Linked DNA regions of Homo sapiens: region 2 is linked to region 1. Evidence: promoter capture Hi-C in 16 types of primary human blood cells and fetal thymus (Javierre and others, 2016). All regions are on one chromosome and are shown on one strand. The core of a region is centred on a gene start or on the middle of the fragment in contact, and the rest is flanking DNA. Distances in the headings are between cores, read along the strand shown. Region 1 overlaps ARHGAP9 (Rho GTPase activating protein 9). Region 2 holds the start of METTL1 (methyltransferase 1, tRNA methylguanosine).

Region 1 (7,489 bases), core at 4,390-6,889:
CAATGCATCCAACCCAAACTCTTTCTTTTTTTTTCAGACGGAGTCTCGCTCTGTTGCCCAGGCTGGAGTGCAGTGGCATGATCTCGGCTCACTGCAACCTCCGCCTCCCAGGTTCACGCCATTCTGCCTCAGCCTCCTGAGTAGCTGGGACTACAGGCGCCTGCCACCACGCCGGGCTAATTTTTTTGTATTTTTAGTAGACATGGGGTTTCACTGTGTTAACCAGGGTGGTCTTGATCTCCTGACCTCGTGATCTGCCCACCTCGGCCTCCCAAAGTGCTGGGATTACAGGCGTGAGCCACTGCACCCGGCAACTCTTTCTTAAATAGCACTTAGTATATGTTCCAAGCCTTTTACATGTATAATTTCATGTACTCCTCACAGCAACTTCATGATAAAGGGACTCACTGTTCCCATTTTCAGTTGAAGAAACTCAGGCATAGAGAAATAGCCCAAGGTCATAGAACTAAGAGCAAGAATTTGAGTCCAGCCAGTCCGTGCTCCAGCCTAGGTTCTTCTCATCAAACGTCTCACATTCAGTTTGCTCCCCCATCTCTTACCTGCTTAGCCCTTTCTACACTTACAAGCTTCCTTGGAACCCCAGCAGTCACTGGGACACAGGCTTCAGCCACTCATCAAGTTGAAGGAGCTGTGGGGAAGGGTGTTGCCCTCAGACCTCATCTTCTCCACAGAAGCCACAGCCAAGCCCTGGGGCCCAGTCATCCTGCAGCAGTGACCACTCCCCGGCAGGGAGTGCAGCCAATACAGACAGTGGTGTGGAAATGACTGGCAATGCAGGGGGCAGCACTGAAGACCTCTCCAGCTTGGACGAGGGACCTTGCATTGCTGGCACTGGTCTGTCCACTCTTCGCCGCCTTGAGAACCTCAGGCTGGACCAGCTACATCAACTCCGGCCAATAGGGACCCGGGGTCTCAAACTGCCCAGCTTGTCCCACACCGGTGAGACCTGGGTGTGGGAGGTGTGGCTGGGGTGAGATCTGGACCTGCCCTGAGGTTGAGAGGAGGAAGTCACCCTTGAGGGCTGTCACACAGCACTTTTGTATAATTAGAAAATGGTGTCCTTCCTCAAGACACTTTCCATTTATCAGAAAATAGTTGTGATGTACAAACATGCAAAGGCTAGCCAGGCATGGTGGTGGGCACCTGTAATCCCAGCTACTCAGGAAGCTGAAGCAGGAGAATTGCTTGAACCTGGGAGGCAGAGGTTGCAGTGAGCTGAGATTGCGCCATTGCACTCCAACTTGAGCAACAAGAGCGAAACTCTGTTTCAAACAAAACAAAACAAAACAAACAAACAAACAAGTATGCAAAGGCTATGATGCGAATGCTGTTCCCTAGGATTGTGCAGCACACAACCTGCACAACTGTTCATAGCAACCCTGAATCCTTGGTAACCCAGAAACAGAATAGGCATGGGAGAAGTAGGAGACAGAACAGACTGGTTAGGGATAACGAGCTTACCCCTGAGAATCCAGGGCAAGGCTGTTGCATGGAGGAGGCAGGGTGAAATTTAGGAAGCTCCTTGACCATCCTACCTTTTCTCCCCATCACTTGCAGGTACCACTGTGTCCCGCCGCGTGGGCCCCCCAGTCTCTCTTGAACGCCGCAGCAGCAGCTCCAGCAGCATCAGCTCTGCCTATACTGTCAGCCGCCGCTCCTCCCTGGCCTCTCCTTTCCCCCCTGGCTCCCCACCAGAGAATGGAGCATCCTCCCTGCCTGGCCTTATGCCTGCCCAGCACTACCTGCTTCGGGCAAGATATGCTTCAGCCAGAGGGGGTGGTACTTCGCCCACTGCAGCATCCAGCCTGGATCGGATAGGTGGTCTTCCCATGCCTCCTTGGAGAAGCCGAGCCGAGTATCCAGGATACAACCCCAATGCAGGGGTCACCCGGAGGGCCAGTGACCCAGCCCAGGCTGCTGACCGTCCTGCTCCAGCTAGAGTCCAGAGGTTCAAGAGCCTGGGCTGTGTCCATACCCCACCCACTGTGGCAGGGGGAGGACAGAACTTTGATCCTTACCTCCCAACCTCTGTCTACTCACCACAGCCCCCCAGCATCACTGAGAATGCTGCCATGGATGCTAGAGGGCTACAGGAAGAGCCAGAAGTTGGGACCTCCATGGTGGGCAGTGGTCTGAACCCCTATATGGACTTCCCACCTACTGATACTCTGGGATATGGGGGACCTGAAGGGGCAGCAGCTGAGCCTTATGGAGCGAGGGGTCCAGGCTCTCTGCCTCTTGGGCCTGGTCCACCCACCAACTATGGCCCCAACCCCTGTCCCCAGCAGGCCTCATATCCTGACCCCACCCAAGAAACATGGGGTGAGTTCCCTTCCCACTCTGGGCTGTACCCAGGCCCCAAGGCTCTAGGTGGAACCTACAGCCAGTGTCCTCGACTTGAACATTATGGACAAGTGCAAGTCAAGCCAGAACAGGGGTGCCCAGTGGGGTCTGACTCCACAGGACTGGCACCCTGCCTCAATGCCCACCCCAGTGAGGGGCCCCCACATCCACAGCCTCTCTTTTCCCATTACCCCCAGCCCTCTCCTCCCCAATATCTCCAGTCAGGCCCCTATACCCAGCCACCCCCTGATTATCTTCCTTCAGAACCCAGGCCTTGCCTGGACTTTGATTCCCCCACCCATTCCACAGGGCAGCTCAAGGCTCAGCTTGTGTGTAATTATGTTCAATCTCAACAGGAGCTACTGTGGGAGGGTGGGGGCAGGGAAGATGCCCCCGCCCAGGAACCTTCCTACCAGAGTCCCAAGTTTCTGGGGGGTTCCCAGGTTAGCCCAAGCCGTGCTAAAGCTCCAGTGAACACATATGGACCTGGCTTTGGACCCAACTTGCCCAATCACAAGTCAGGTTCCTATCCCACCCCTTCACCATGCCATGAAAATTTTGTAGTGGGGGCAAATAGGGCTTCACATAGGGCAGCAGCACCACCTCGACTTCTGCCCCCATTGCCCACTTGCTATGGGCCTCTCAAAGTGGGAGGCACAAACCCCAGCTGTGGTCATCCTGAGGTGGGCAGGCTAGGAGGGGGTCCTGCCTTGTACCCTCCTCCCGAAGGACAGGTATGTAACCCCCTGGACTCTCTTGATCTTGACAACACTCAGCTGGACTTTGTGGCTATTCTGGATGAGCCCCAGGGGCTGAGTCCTCCTCCTTCCCATGATCAGCGGGGCAGCTCTGGACATACCCCACCTCCCTCTGGGCCCCCCAACATGGCTGTGGGCAACATGAGTGTCTTACTGAGATCCCTACCTGGGGAAACAGAATTCCTCAACTCTAGTGCCTAAAGAGTAGGGAATCTCATCCATCACAGATCGCATTTCCTAAGGGGTTTCTATCCTTCCAGAAAAATTGGGGGAGCTGCAGTCCCATGCACAAGATGCCCCAGGGATGGGAGGTATGGGCTGGGGGCTATGTATAGTCTGTATACGTTTTGAGGAGAAATTTGATAATGACACTGTTTCCTGATAATAAAGGAACTGCATCAGAAAAAATACCATGCCACTTTATGTATTATTATGTTGGGGAGGAATGATAACAGGGAACAAGAAGAGAAGCAGGGGTTAATCCACTCACTTTCCTCTTTAGAGAAGCTCCCTCACCCATCCCAACACCTCAAGTCACACTCATGAAGATAGAGACAGTCATTTGGGAGATTTAAAGGGATATCCTCAAAACAGAACACCAGCCTCTCACCACCAGAGATGACCGGAAATATGTTTTCTCTTCTTCCTTCCCTGCATCAGGGGAAGAGGCTGGTGAAGTTGGTGAGCATCAGCTGGACCAGCTGCCCTGGGTAGAGAGCATGGGCTGCTGGGTCAGATGTCTCCTGCTCTGGCCGAAACAGGGTTGGTCCAAACACAATTCCCAGGTTGTGGGGTGTCATGCGATTCTTATCTGAGTGTGCTATCACCCTGTAAGCAAAGGCCAAGGAAGGGGATATATGGCAGCAGCTTGCCACTTCATAGCAATCTAACTAACCCTTCAAAGTTCTGAGCAGGGAAGAGTTCACTCTGGGATTCCTCCACATGGTAACAAAAAAACCAAGGAGATACAAGGAGAATGGAGATGGACCAGTGGAGAAACCTTCAGGATACAACCTGAAGATATAACTGCCTCTTCCGACTTCAGGGGCTGCCCCAAGAGTTCTGCCTGCTCACAGTTTGGGAGTCTTTAATTCAAGTGGCCATCCTCTCTCAGAAGTCACTGCCCAGGCCCAGTTCAACCAAAGAAGCCATCAGCAATGTCCCAATGGGAGACAAAGAGGCAGAGGGAAGGGAGAAGTAAGATTTCCCTTATTCCTTTCACAGCATCTTGGTTCCATTTCCCCACTTGATGCTGACCTTTAGGTTTTGACCTAAAGTCTTTGACGGGCACGGTGTAATCCCAGCACTTTGGGAGGCTGAGGTGGGTAAATCACCTGAGGTCAGGAGTTCGAGACCAGCCTGGCCAACATGGTGAAACCCCGTCTCTACTAAAAATACAAAAATTAGCCAGGCGTGGTGGCGGGCACCTGTAATCCCAGTTACTCAGGAGGCTGAGGCAGGAGAATTACTTGAACCCGGGAGGCAGAGGTTGCAGTGAGCTGAAATTGCGCCACTGCACTCCAGTCTGGGTGACAGAGCGAGACTCTGTCTCAAAAATAAATAAAATAAAAAAATAAAGGTTTTGACTCTGGTAATATGCTCCTGCACAGAGGTTGCCTGCTTCCTCACCTGCCCATTAAACTTAGGTGCTTCCCTACCTTCACTCCACCTGCACAGAGTCCCTGTGGCATTCCCCACTCCACCTTTCCCCAGCATGAACAAAGAGGTTCTGTCTTCCTGACCTGCATAAATGCTCCAGGAGGTACCGTAGAGTGTCATGGTTGGGCTTTGGCATTGAGCCTATTAATTCTTGTATCTGAGAGAGGCACTGCTCTGATTCGGAGAGTGCTAGAGAGAGTGATGGGAAAGGCATGGTAGTAAGGTTAGGGAAGGTGCTAGGACAGGATGGGTAAATGCACTGCTCTTTCCCACAGGCATGGAAGACATCATTAATCTAGCACAGCTTTCTTTTTCACATAGCCCAACTATAGCCTCATAATTCTTTTCAATTCAGCCCTCTAAACATTCACAAAAAAGCAACTGGAGTAGGCACCTGAGTTGAACATTATTTTCCATCTCTAAAGTCAGAATGGGAAAGAAGAGTATAAGGGAACCTCTATTCTATTATTTACCACCCGTGTCCCCCACATCAAGGGTTCTTTCCAAAGCTCCAACCCTTACCAAGGGCAGCACGGAAATGGGGCAGCAGCAGTGGTGGCACCAGAGGCTGGGGCAGCTCCCGGAGAAAAAGCTTCAGGGCTCCGGTGACCACATGAATGTCATCCCACTCAGTACTGTCCAAATCTAACCGACCTTCTGGAGGGAGAAGGAGGTATAGGGGCTCATGAAGGGCCAGAAAGATTTAGAGACTGAGAGATTAGAAGTTCTGGAGAAATCCAGTCAAAGCAGACTATAGGAATGCCTAGAGGGTCTGCAGTGGGGCAAGGTAGCTAAGGTGGGGATGAGGACAACCCTCCCAGGAATAGTACATGGGGGTTTCCACGGGAAGCAAAGAGGATATGTGGAAGTTTTAGGGATCTGAAGGGTCTTCCATGTAAGTACCTTGTCCTGGCTGTTCTGGGAACACATACCTCCCATCGGAGGTGACCGCACGCTCTGCAACATGAATGAGGAGAGATCAGGAGCTAAGACATACACTTCCAGCCTGACGGCCTCTCTATTCTGCCAGCTTCCTCATGTAGGACCGCCCATGGTTCTCAGGCAAGACATTCTTAGTACAACCACTGGCCCACAAGCCTTCTCACCTCTGTCCACCAGAAAGCGAAGCTTCTGGACCACTGCCAAGTTCCCGCTCACCCGATAAATGCCATCCACATCTAGACCTGGGAGATGAGGAAGGAGTAGATAAGGACTGCTGCTTGAAAGTGTGTGTGGTGAGGGATATAAGGGTGGAGAGAAAAAGGGCAGTAGGAAGACTAGGTAGAATGGGGGAGGCAGAAAATTCTAGGCCTTAGCCTGTTGGAAGAGGATTCTGGGGTCTCTGAGAAAATGACCTCTTTTATCCACAGCAGCAATGCAGAGCCGCAAAAAGCTGGGCACCGTGTCTCCTTCCCGCTGGCAGAGTGATTCCAACTGGCAGCCGAACACCTGGTCTGGGGAAGTAGAGTGAGGCGGGAAGCCAGTGCCAGCGTCACTCACAGGAGCTCTTCTCAGCATAGGTCTTTATCCTTAAGTGAGGCTGGTCCTCCTGGCTGCCTGTGCCAGGCCTGGGCAAGGAAATACACTCCACCTCCCTTCCCCTGCTTCAAACAATCTGGCAAAGGGGTACAGGTCACCCCAGCTTCTCCCCTAAACAATCTGGGGTAGTGGGAAAGCAGCAGTCACAGAAGGTTGTGGTCTAGTTCTGGGAAGCTCTACTCTGAGCCTCGCTGGAGTTTTCTTATCCATGAACCTGGCCCAGCCCCCTCACCTCGGAGCAGACCCCGCTCCTGCAGGCTTTGTAAGGGCGGTCTCTTCGCGATGAGCCGCTTTAGTTTGTTGCGCACGCGGTTCTGCTCGGTGCCTTCGGGCCCCCGAACTGCAGGAGGCAGGTAGAGCGGGGCGTGAGCGCCCGGGAGCCTCGCTGCGCTCCCGGACTCTCCCTCCCCAGCCCGCGCCTCACTGGAGCTCCGGCGGCTGCTGAGGCGCAGCAGCGGCTTGGACACCAGCTCCGACTCCTCTTCTTCGTCCTCCCCGGCGCTCAGCTCCGCGGGTCCAGAGCCCGACAGACGCAGCTCCAGGGGGTTCTCCCGATCCTAGACCCGGGGCGGGCCGTGTCGAAGGTGAGAGAGGAGAGAAATCTGTATCCCTAGCTGGACTCTGACCCACTGCCGGGGTCCCACATCCCGGCCCAGGCAAGGGCTCTCCACTGAGCCCACCCTGCCCCCAACTGCTCCTGACTCCTATCGTTCCTACCCCACTCCCTTGGTCCCGGCCGGTCGGAGCCTCCCTCCGGGCCTCCACCCATCTAACCAGCCGCTCGATGACAGTCCGCAGCGCGCGGTGCCAGGCTCGCAGCTCTGTCTCGTGGTCCGACTGCAGCAGGAACTCGTGGCCAGGGATCGTGCGGATCTGAGGGCCAGGCAAGGAAACGCTCGGGTCAACGGGAAGGAGTATAATAAGCAGGGAGACCTAGCGGGAGGCCTGCGCGGGAGATTGGGGGCGCCCTCGGGTCGGGTGGGGCCTTGGGGACGCGCGGGAGGGCGCTCACGTGCAGGACGTTGCGGCGGCTGGACAGGTGGCGGCCGTGCGCCAGGGCCGCCCCGCGCAGGTCCACGCTACTTTCGGGCCGGCTACCCGCTGGTCCCTGACAATGAGGGAGGAAACTGAGGCCACGGTGTTGTTTCCTTCACTGCTTCCCTCTCCCC
Region 2 (7,489 bases), core at 4,974-7,473, 300 kb after region 1:
AGATGCCCAATGGTAGAGTGGGACAGCCGACCTCCCACCATGCCCCCAGATTGATAGTTTCGGGACCCGCAGCAGGAGAGGGCCGCTGCAGGGCGTCTGGGCTTCTGGGGGCAGAGAAGACTCACGCAGTGAGCAGTCCGCAAGCCCGCTGGCGGCAGCGGCGGTGCTCCGTCCAGGGCGAGAAGCTGCAGCGCTCGGGCCGGGGTCCCTCCTGTCGCAGCAGCTCCTCGACGAGTGCAGGGGCAGCCACGTACACGGTGCGCACTGTCCCAAAGCTGGCTAGCCACACCGGCCCGAAGTGCGCGGCGCCCTGCACCTGGGGGAGCGGACACAGCGGACACTTGGATACCTGGGCGGGGACTTTCAGCTTGACCTGTGCCCACGCCAAGGGCGTTGACTGGGCTTGGGAATAGGGAGCTTCTGCTCTTTCTCGGGTGCCCAACTAGTGTATGCCTTTGATACTGCAAACTCCTCCTCTCTCATTTCCCATCCCTAGAAAGTTTGAGTGTGATGGGCAAAACCGGAACTTTGTGCAAGGCAGACATTCAGGACCTCTCTGATCATCTCGGTCGAGGAGAAATCTCTAAAAGTTCCATGTCTGGACTGTCCATCTCAGGACGAGTCCTCAGTGAATGAAAAGGAACCCATGTAGCTTTAAGCCGCAAGCAGGCGGAGGGTACTGCCCACTCCGGCCTCCCCCTCCCGCGCACTTGTACTTTATCTGCAGGATCTCCACACCTCAGGACAGCGAGAAGGCGCTTTCGCAGCGCCCTCTGCTAAGAGTCGGGACGGGCTCTGCCCGAGTGTAGCCACACCGCCCCCAGCCTCAACTCGCCTTTTCCTTATTTCATGGGCATCCGTTCTCTCTGGCTGTCCCACATTTGCTCTGCACTAGTCAGTCCTTTCTGACGCTGTCAAAACCAGTTTCCCCAGCACTCTGTCTCGGGAAAGGCGTCCCTTCCTACCTGCAGCTCGTGTAGCCTCGACAGCCCCCCCTTGCAGAAAAGTTCGGCCAGAAAGCTGGGCGTAGAGGGGCCTGGGATGTCTGCCAAGCTCCGGCGTGCTGAGTGGTACTCTCGGTAGCCTAGGGAGGCGCCCAACTCGGGCGCCCAGCGGACGCGATGGAACACTCTGGAGGCGTACTTGAGGGTCTGGGTCATGGTCTGGTTCAGGGTGCTCGCGAAAGAAAGCGCTTCTCCTGAGCATCATATCTCAACCCCTATTTAACCTTTGGGTGAGGTGATGACGCCCCCTCTCCAAGCTCCTCAGCCAATCCCTCCTCCTGAGTGGTCTGTGCTGGGGATTAGCACCCAGGAACAGTAGGCGGGGCTGGGGCTGACTTCACAACTCCCTTGGGTCTCATGTTGCAATGACCCTCATGGGAGGGAGGGCCTAAGATTTTCCTCCTGGGAGAGTGCCTTTGTCTAGGAGCCTCAAAGTCTCATCCTAGGAAAGGCTATAAGGCTTTTTAGTAGGGACTAGGTGACCAAGCTACACTAGTCAGTCTCTGATATTCCCACTTCTACCAGTGAGCCCAGCCCCTTTAGGCCCATCCTCAGGAATTCCCCATCTTTCAGCTCCTCCAGGAAGGGAAGCAGGGGAGGCACAGCTGTAACTGTCCCCACATTCTTGGCTTAGTGGGTTGTATCTTCTCTGCATTATTTTCCTGCACTAGCCACACCTCCCCCTCCTCCTGTACCTAACATATACTGGGCAGATGGCAGGTGGGTTAATGGGCTAAAATGGCTCCTAGAACCTCCATCTTTCTTTCTTGAGGATAAGGGGGTCTCTTGGGTATACAAGCCCCCTCCTTCCAGACATGGGAATTTGGGGCTTGAGAAGCAGAAATGAAACTTTTTGTACATTAGTTAAGTTCAGAGATTGTCTGTGGGGTGTTAGAGGAGCTAAATGGATGTGGATGTTCTAATTCCCCAGCTGACTCGGTCTCCTCTGGGGGGCTTTCTGGTTAGCAGCTCCTTTCTACTTTTAGCCTCAGAATCCTGTGGTGGCTCATGCCTATAATCCCAGCACTTTGGGAGGCTGAGGCAGGAGGATGGCATGAGGCCAGGAGGTTGAGACAAGCTTGAGCAACATAGCAAGACTGTCTCTACAGAAGAAGTTTAAAAATTAGGCTGGGCACGGCAGCTCATGACTGTAATCCCAACACTTTGGGAGGCTAAGGTGGGCAGACTGCTTGAGCTCAGGAGTCTGAGACCAGCCTGGGCAACATAGTGGAACTGTCTCTACAAAAAATACAAAAATTAGCCAGGCATGGTGGCGTATGCCTGTAGTGCCTTGAGAGGCTGAGGTGGATTACATGAGCCCGGGAGGTCAAGGCTGCAGTGAGTTATGATTGTACCACTGCACTCCAGCCTAGGCAACAGAGAGAGGGCCTGTCTCTAAAAAAAATTAAAATAAAAGAATCTCCCACAGTTTACCTCTCTGCTCCTTACTCCCTCATTCCCCACTGCAACTCTATCAGGCTCTGTGCCAGTCAGCTAGCTCTGAAGTTCTGGAATTGAAGGTCAATGTGAAAAAGGAGAGGGTCTCCACCCCCACACCTTCCCAAGGACTCTCCAGAGACAACACTTAGGGAACACAGATTCCCCAGGTCAAGTCTTACGCAGGGAGAGGACAGGAGGATGGTAGAAGGCATATGATACATACTCCACCCTTTCCTGAGAAATGGCAGAATAGGCATGTGTACACATATACATGTTATCCCAGGATCCACAAAGCAAACAGAAGTGGTAATTGAGCCTAGCAAGCAGTTTAGATGGACTACATTCCTCATTCCAGCTGAGGAGAGATCTCACAAGGAGAAAGGAGTGCTAAGGAAGAGCAAGACCCCACAGCCTTCCAAAGATCCCCTATGGTCCAAAGTCCTTTGACCATCTCAGTCAGCTGCTTTGTTTTCTGTTGGCAGTGGAGGGACAAGGTGAGAGGAGCCAGGGGTAGTCATGAACACCAGTGGGTTCTGCCCTGGGCAGCTCCCCACCTTCTTTAAGAGAGTACTGTGTCTCAGCTCCAGCAGTCTCAACTGGGAAGACCCAGGACTCCTGCTCTTTTCTCTAATCCCTGGGAGACGAGGTCCAGCTAAGGTAGAGTAAGCAGTCAGTGACCAGGCAGGCTGGTTTGGGAGGTCACTGCCTGGAGGACGGGATCTTGTATTCTTCGGAAGATGGCTGGGAAATTCTTCCCTCCATTACGTAGAACTTTCTTCCCCTCCTCAGTTGAGGTGCCTAGATGTCCCACAACGGGGTCTTCACTCTGGGAGAAGGAAGGGTCCAATAAGTCCTTGCCCACTGTTCAGACTGCCCCTGGCCCTTAGACACCTATCCCATCCTCCTGGCACTGAGTTAAGTCCAAATACAGAACCACTCTGGAAAGGGCCTCCACCTCCTCTAGGTCCCCTACTCACCAGGTCCTCCAGAGGCACACGCTCAAACAGTGGGTGCTCTTCGAAATGAGTGCACATCCAGTCGTGTAGCTCCAGCACATCGGTTATGGTATACACCAGCCCCTGCATAGGCAAAATCACCCTAGACAGGAGGCTGCATGCAACGTCAGCAGCCAGATGAAGGAAGTGGTGGTGTGAGTCCCTAAATGCACCCCCACTGAATTCTTAGTGAAGGGCCCCTGAGTAGGCCACTCACCCCATCATCCCTCCGATCCCAACTCACCCCAACTCTTAGCACGTAGGCATATTCTGCTAGCAGGGTGGGACTGATGATTCGCCACTTGTGCTTTGTCCGCTTGAAATGTGGGTCGGGGAAGAGGAAGAACATCTTTGTCAGCTGTGAGACAGACACACACCAACAGGGTTGTGAGAGCCTGGCCTCCATGCCCCCACCTGCCTACCAGCCTAACCCACCAGGGCCCCTCCCCACCTGGCCCTTGTAGAAGAAGTTAGGAAGGTGCTTCATGGCATTGCTACGGAGACAGGCGATGTTCTGGAAGCCACCTGCAGGAGCTGCGCGTAGGGCCCGAATCCGGTCTTGTACATAGTCTGAGACCTTCACCCGGATCTCCAGACCCAGAATAAGTGTGTCTGGGAACAGCGGTGACAGTTCCACTGCACACAGAAATAGCAATGGAATCATCAACCATATACTTGTAGGAAGTGCAAAGGGGTCAACACAGGAAAGGAAGCCTCAACCTGCAACTACCAAAGTCCAGAACGGCAAGAGAGGACAGAGATACATATATGGATAGTTTTATGCTCAAGAGGCGGGGGGAGAAATGAAAATTGTCACCAGGACCAGAATGGGAGGGCTGAGGATACATGTATATTTGCCATTGCTTTAGAGTTTTCCACAGTGTTTTCACACATTGTGTTATTTCATCCTTATAACACTCTGTGGTAAATTGTGAAGATAAGGAAACTGAGGGTCAGATATGCCGAAGATCATAGAGTTAAGAAGGGGCAGAACTGGAACTTATTTATTTGAGATGGAGTCTTGCTCTGTCACCCAGGCTGGAGTGCAGTGGCACAATCTTGGCTCACTGCAATCTCTGCCTCCCAGGTTCAAGTAATTCTCCTGCCTCAGCCTCCTGAGTAGCTGGTCTTGAACTCCTGGCCTCAAGTGGTCCACCTGCCTCAGCCTCCCAAAGTGTTGGGATTACAGGTGTGAGCCACTGTGCCCAGGCAGAACTGGACCTTAAACCAAGGTTTTCTGCCTCTATGTACCATGCTCTTCTTCTCTATCAGGCTGTTATCTGTTTGGGAAGATCTAAAAATAGGGAGTGGCTTGGCATGCATGGGTGGGACAATACAGACAATACAAGAGGAACCCAAAAAACAGGAGAGTGGGGCAGAAGGAATGAGATCTGGCGAGGGAGGGGCAAAGGGGAGGGGAGATGGTAGAATCTCTGAGAAAAGACAGTTCAGGATCACTGGCCACAACGGCTAATCTCTGATGCTTGTGCTGACCAGCTCACTGACCCGGAACCTGGCAGATGAAATGGCTCATGTAGGGATTGACGCCAGAAAGGACAACCCAGGTTTTAAGAAGCATTTGAGGCAGCCCCCTCCACTCTCCAGGGCAAAGGTCACAGACCCAGAGTAGAGGGTAGGTGGAGCCTCTCCATGCTGATGTCACCAGTGTCTGGACGAAAGGGGAAAGGCCAATTATGACCCCCCACAAAAGTTGCTGAGGCAGCAGAAGCTACTAGGCCTCTTCTCACCCCAAAAAGAGGGCCTGAGTGTTACCTAACAGGCCACCATAGCCACAGCCTATGTCTGCAAACTCCACTTGGGCCTGAGCTCTCTTTTCTTTCTTATCCTTTGGGTCATCGTGGCTCTGATTTTGAGTGAGTGGAGCGAAGAACTCTGGGTATAGCTCAGACCAGTCCATCTCCTCTGGCTTCACAGGGCTATTGGAAAGAAGACATAAGAAGCATGAGAAGGTTGGTCACACCATTGCAGAAGTGGTACTGTGAGAGTGTGTGGGTGGGTGAGGGTGGGAGGTAAAAGGGAGGAGGGTTTCTCAAAAATTCTGTAACACTGGGCCCTGTGGCCTCTAAGAGGGACAATGGAAACCACCCTTAACTCCCAGTGTGAATCATAGGACCATCATGAGGCCCATAAACGCTGACCTGCCCAACTCCACTTCTGGCGGTTGATGTGACCCTGGCCGGGTAACTGCCCTTTCTGGGGCACAAGTTCCCCTTCTCCCGAGACTGGCTGCCTAATGCACTGGGATCCTACTTTGTGTTTGTGCTCTGCGGGGAGGGAAGGTAAGGTAAGGTGCGGGCAGGATTGTGTATATGTTTGCCTTTTTATTAAATCCAACAAACAAAAGCAAAAGATGGAAACGACATTCTGCCTCTATCACTTCAGTCTCAGTAACAATTTATTTCTCTTCCCAAACTTAGCACCGCTACCCAGACTTAGGCCCGAACGCCACGCCCACTCTCAACCCGCCAACTCCTCTCTCGGTCGAATCTCCCGGTCCCACCCCCAAAAACTGACGTCACCCATCTGATCCTCCCGGGTCTACCCCAAATCCTCCCAGCAGTTGCAGCACAACTGCTCTCCCGGCTGCTTTGAGAATCCCGCCCTCCTCTCTCTCCCTCTGCCCACTCCTCACTAGCGCAGCGTGTGGTCCGCCATGGGGTTGGAGTGAGCACGTTGCCGGTAGTAGCGCTTCTGGGGCGGTGGGGCCTCTGCTCCGGCCACGTTCCGAGTCTCGGCTGCCATGATCCCAGTCCGGGGTTTCTCTACCAAATCCACGTGGAGGCGCAGGCCAGAGGCGCAAGTTAATGACGCAGCCATGCGCGTTGGTGGCAGTTCCCGCCCCTTAAAGACCCAAGAGCAAATTCAGCTGGGCTGGGCTGGGCTGGGCTGGGCTAGGTGGGGAGGGCTGTAAGGAGCGAGTGCTGGAGGGAACCTCCGCACCGTTAGCCTCCAACTGGGAGGGCGAGGCCAGGCCCAGGGACCCAACGTTTTCTCTTAGCTTGCTTCTGCCTGGTCTGGGTTACCATCCTGGTTGCAGGCACCTGTGCACCCCACAGGTGAGAGGGGTCTAGAGACCTCGCCTTCTACAGTGGCATCAGTCCTCGCTCCTGTCCCCTTACTCCTGGTCTCGGACCAGTCCGCCCGGTCTGACTCTTGTGGTCCCGTGTGGGTTTCGTCGAGTGTGCGCTCGGGGCCGGGGCGGGAGGGGCAGCTCCTCATTCCACCTCCAGGAAATCGAACTGGAGGAAGGAGGGCAAACTCAGGGAGGCGGGGCTCGTTCCACAGGGACACCACGACGGCTCGCGGCCCCCAGCCTCTACCCCGCTCCGGATCCGGGATCTGAGCGCCGGCCGCGGTGCCCAGGCACTCCCTTGGCGGGCCGGATGGCGGACCCCGGCCCAGATCCCGAATCTGAGTCGGAATCGGTGTTCCCGCGGGAGGTCGGGCTCTTTGCAGACTCTTACTCGGAGAAGAGCCAGTTCTGTTTCTGTGGGCATGTGCTGACCATCACGCAGAACTTTGGGTCCCGCCTCGGGGTGGCGGCGCGCGTGTGGGACGCGGTGAGGAATGGGCTGCGCCGGGTGAGGGTCCGTGGGAGGTCCAGATCCCGGACTCCGCCTCTCCCATATGGAGCCATCCTCACGACTGTCTTTTTCTCTGTCTTTTCTCCCGTAGGCCCTGAGCCTGTGCAATTATTTCGAGAGTCAAAATGTGGATTTCCGAGGCAAGAAGGTGATCGAACTGGGTGCGGGGACAGGCATCGTGGGGATCTTGGCAGCGCTGCAGGGTGCGTGAGCTGGCTTTTTACGGGAGAGAGTGGGGACCCAGGGGCGCGGAGAAATGGTCACTTCGTGGATCTTTGGGGGAGAGGGGAGAACTTTGGGCCCAGTCTAACCCCTTCTTTTTAACAAATTTTTTTTTAAAATTTGTTTTTGTTTTTATTTTGGCGTCTGCTTCTGCGTGCCAGACAGCGCGAATTGCCTGTCAAAGCACCTAGGGTGGGTGATTGGGGAGGGCAGGAAATAAAAC

What was found. The method cuts DNA at HindIII sites, captures the fragments that hold promoters and counts their contacts. A CHiCAGO score of 5 or more calls a contact.
Region 2: the fragment with the promoter of METTL1 here is called in contact with a fragment that was not itself captured in region 1 in 6 of 17 cell types (total B cells, naive CD8 T cells, activated CD4 T cells and 3 more); the score reaches 6.5 in total B cells.

The regions. Positions count from the first base shown.
Region 1 is chr12:57,468,739-57,476,227 of GRCh38, forward strand. ARHGAP9 (Rho GTPase activating protein 9) reads right to left here. Exons shown (of 18, transcript NM_032496.4): 9 at 7,333-7,428; 10 at 7,095-7,193; 11 at 6,745-6,877; 12 at 6,553-6,660; 13 at 6,137-6,235; 14 at 5,888-5,965; 15 at 5,685-5,738; 16 at 5,304-5,438; 17 at 4,865-4,970; 18 at 3,531-3,950. The coding sequence ends at 3,779. It overlaps GLI1 (GLI family zinc finger 1), which reads left to right. Exons shown (of 12, transcript NM_005269.3): 11 at 693-960; 12 at 1,579-3,530. The coding sequence ends at 3,323. Among named protein-coding and RNA genes, the nearest start is that of ARHGAP9, 7.4 kb to the right of the region's middle. RefSeq lists an enhancer at 7,163-7,489. The HindIII fragment of the contact is 536 bases long and covers 5,372-5,907 here.
Region 2 is chr12:57,765,882-57,773,370 of GRCh38, forward strand. METTL1 (methyltransferase 1, tRNA methylguanosine) reads right to left here and starts at 6,224. Exons shown (of 6, transcript NM_005371.6): 1 at 6,093-6,224; 2 at 5,213-5,376; 3 at 3,891-4,075; 4 at 3,684-3,797; 5 at 3,422-3,523; 6 at 2,590-3,270. The coding sequence starts at 6,202. The coding sequence ends at 3,115. EEF1AKMT3 (EEF1A lysine methyltransferase 3) reads left to right here and starts at 6,733. Exons shown (of 3, transcript NM_015433.3): 1 at 6,733-7,020; 2 at 7,136-7,247. The coding sequence starts at 6,844. CYP27B1 (cytochrome P450 family 27 subfamily B member 1) reads right to left here and starts at 1,197. Exons shown (of 9, transcript NM_000785.4): 1 at 966-1,197; 2 at 126-316. The coding sequence starts at 1,160. RefSeq lists enhancers at 5,083-6,282, 5,968-6,257, 6,388-6,897. The HindIII fragment of the contact is 5,954 bases long and covers 2,081-7,489 here.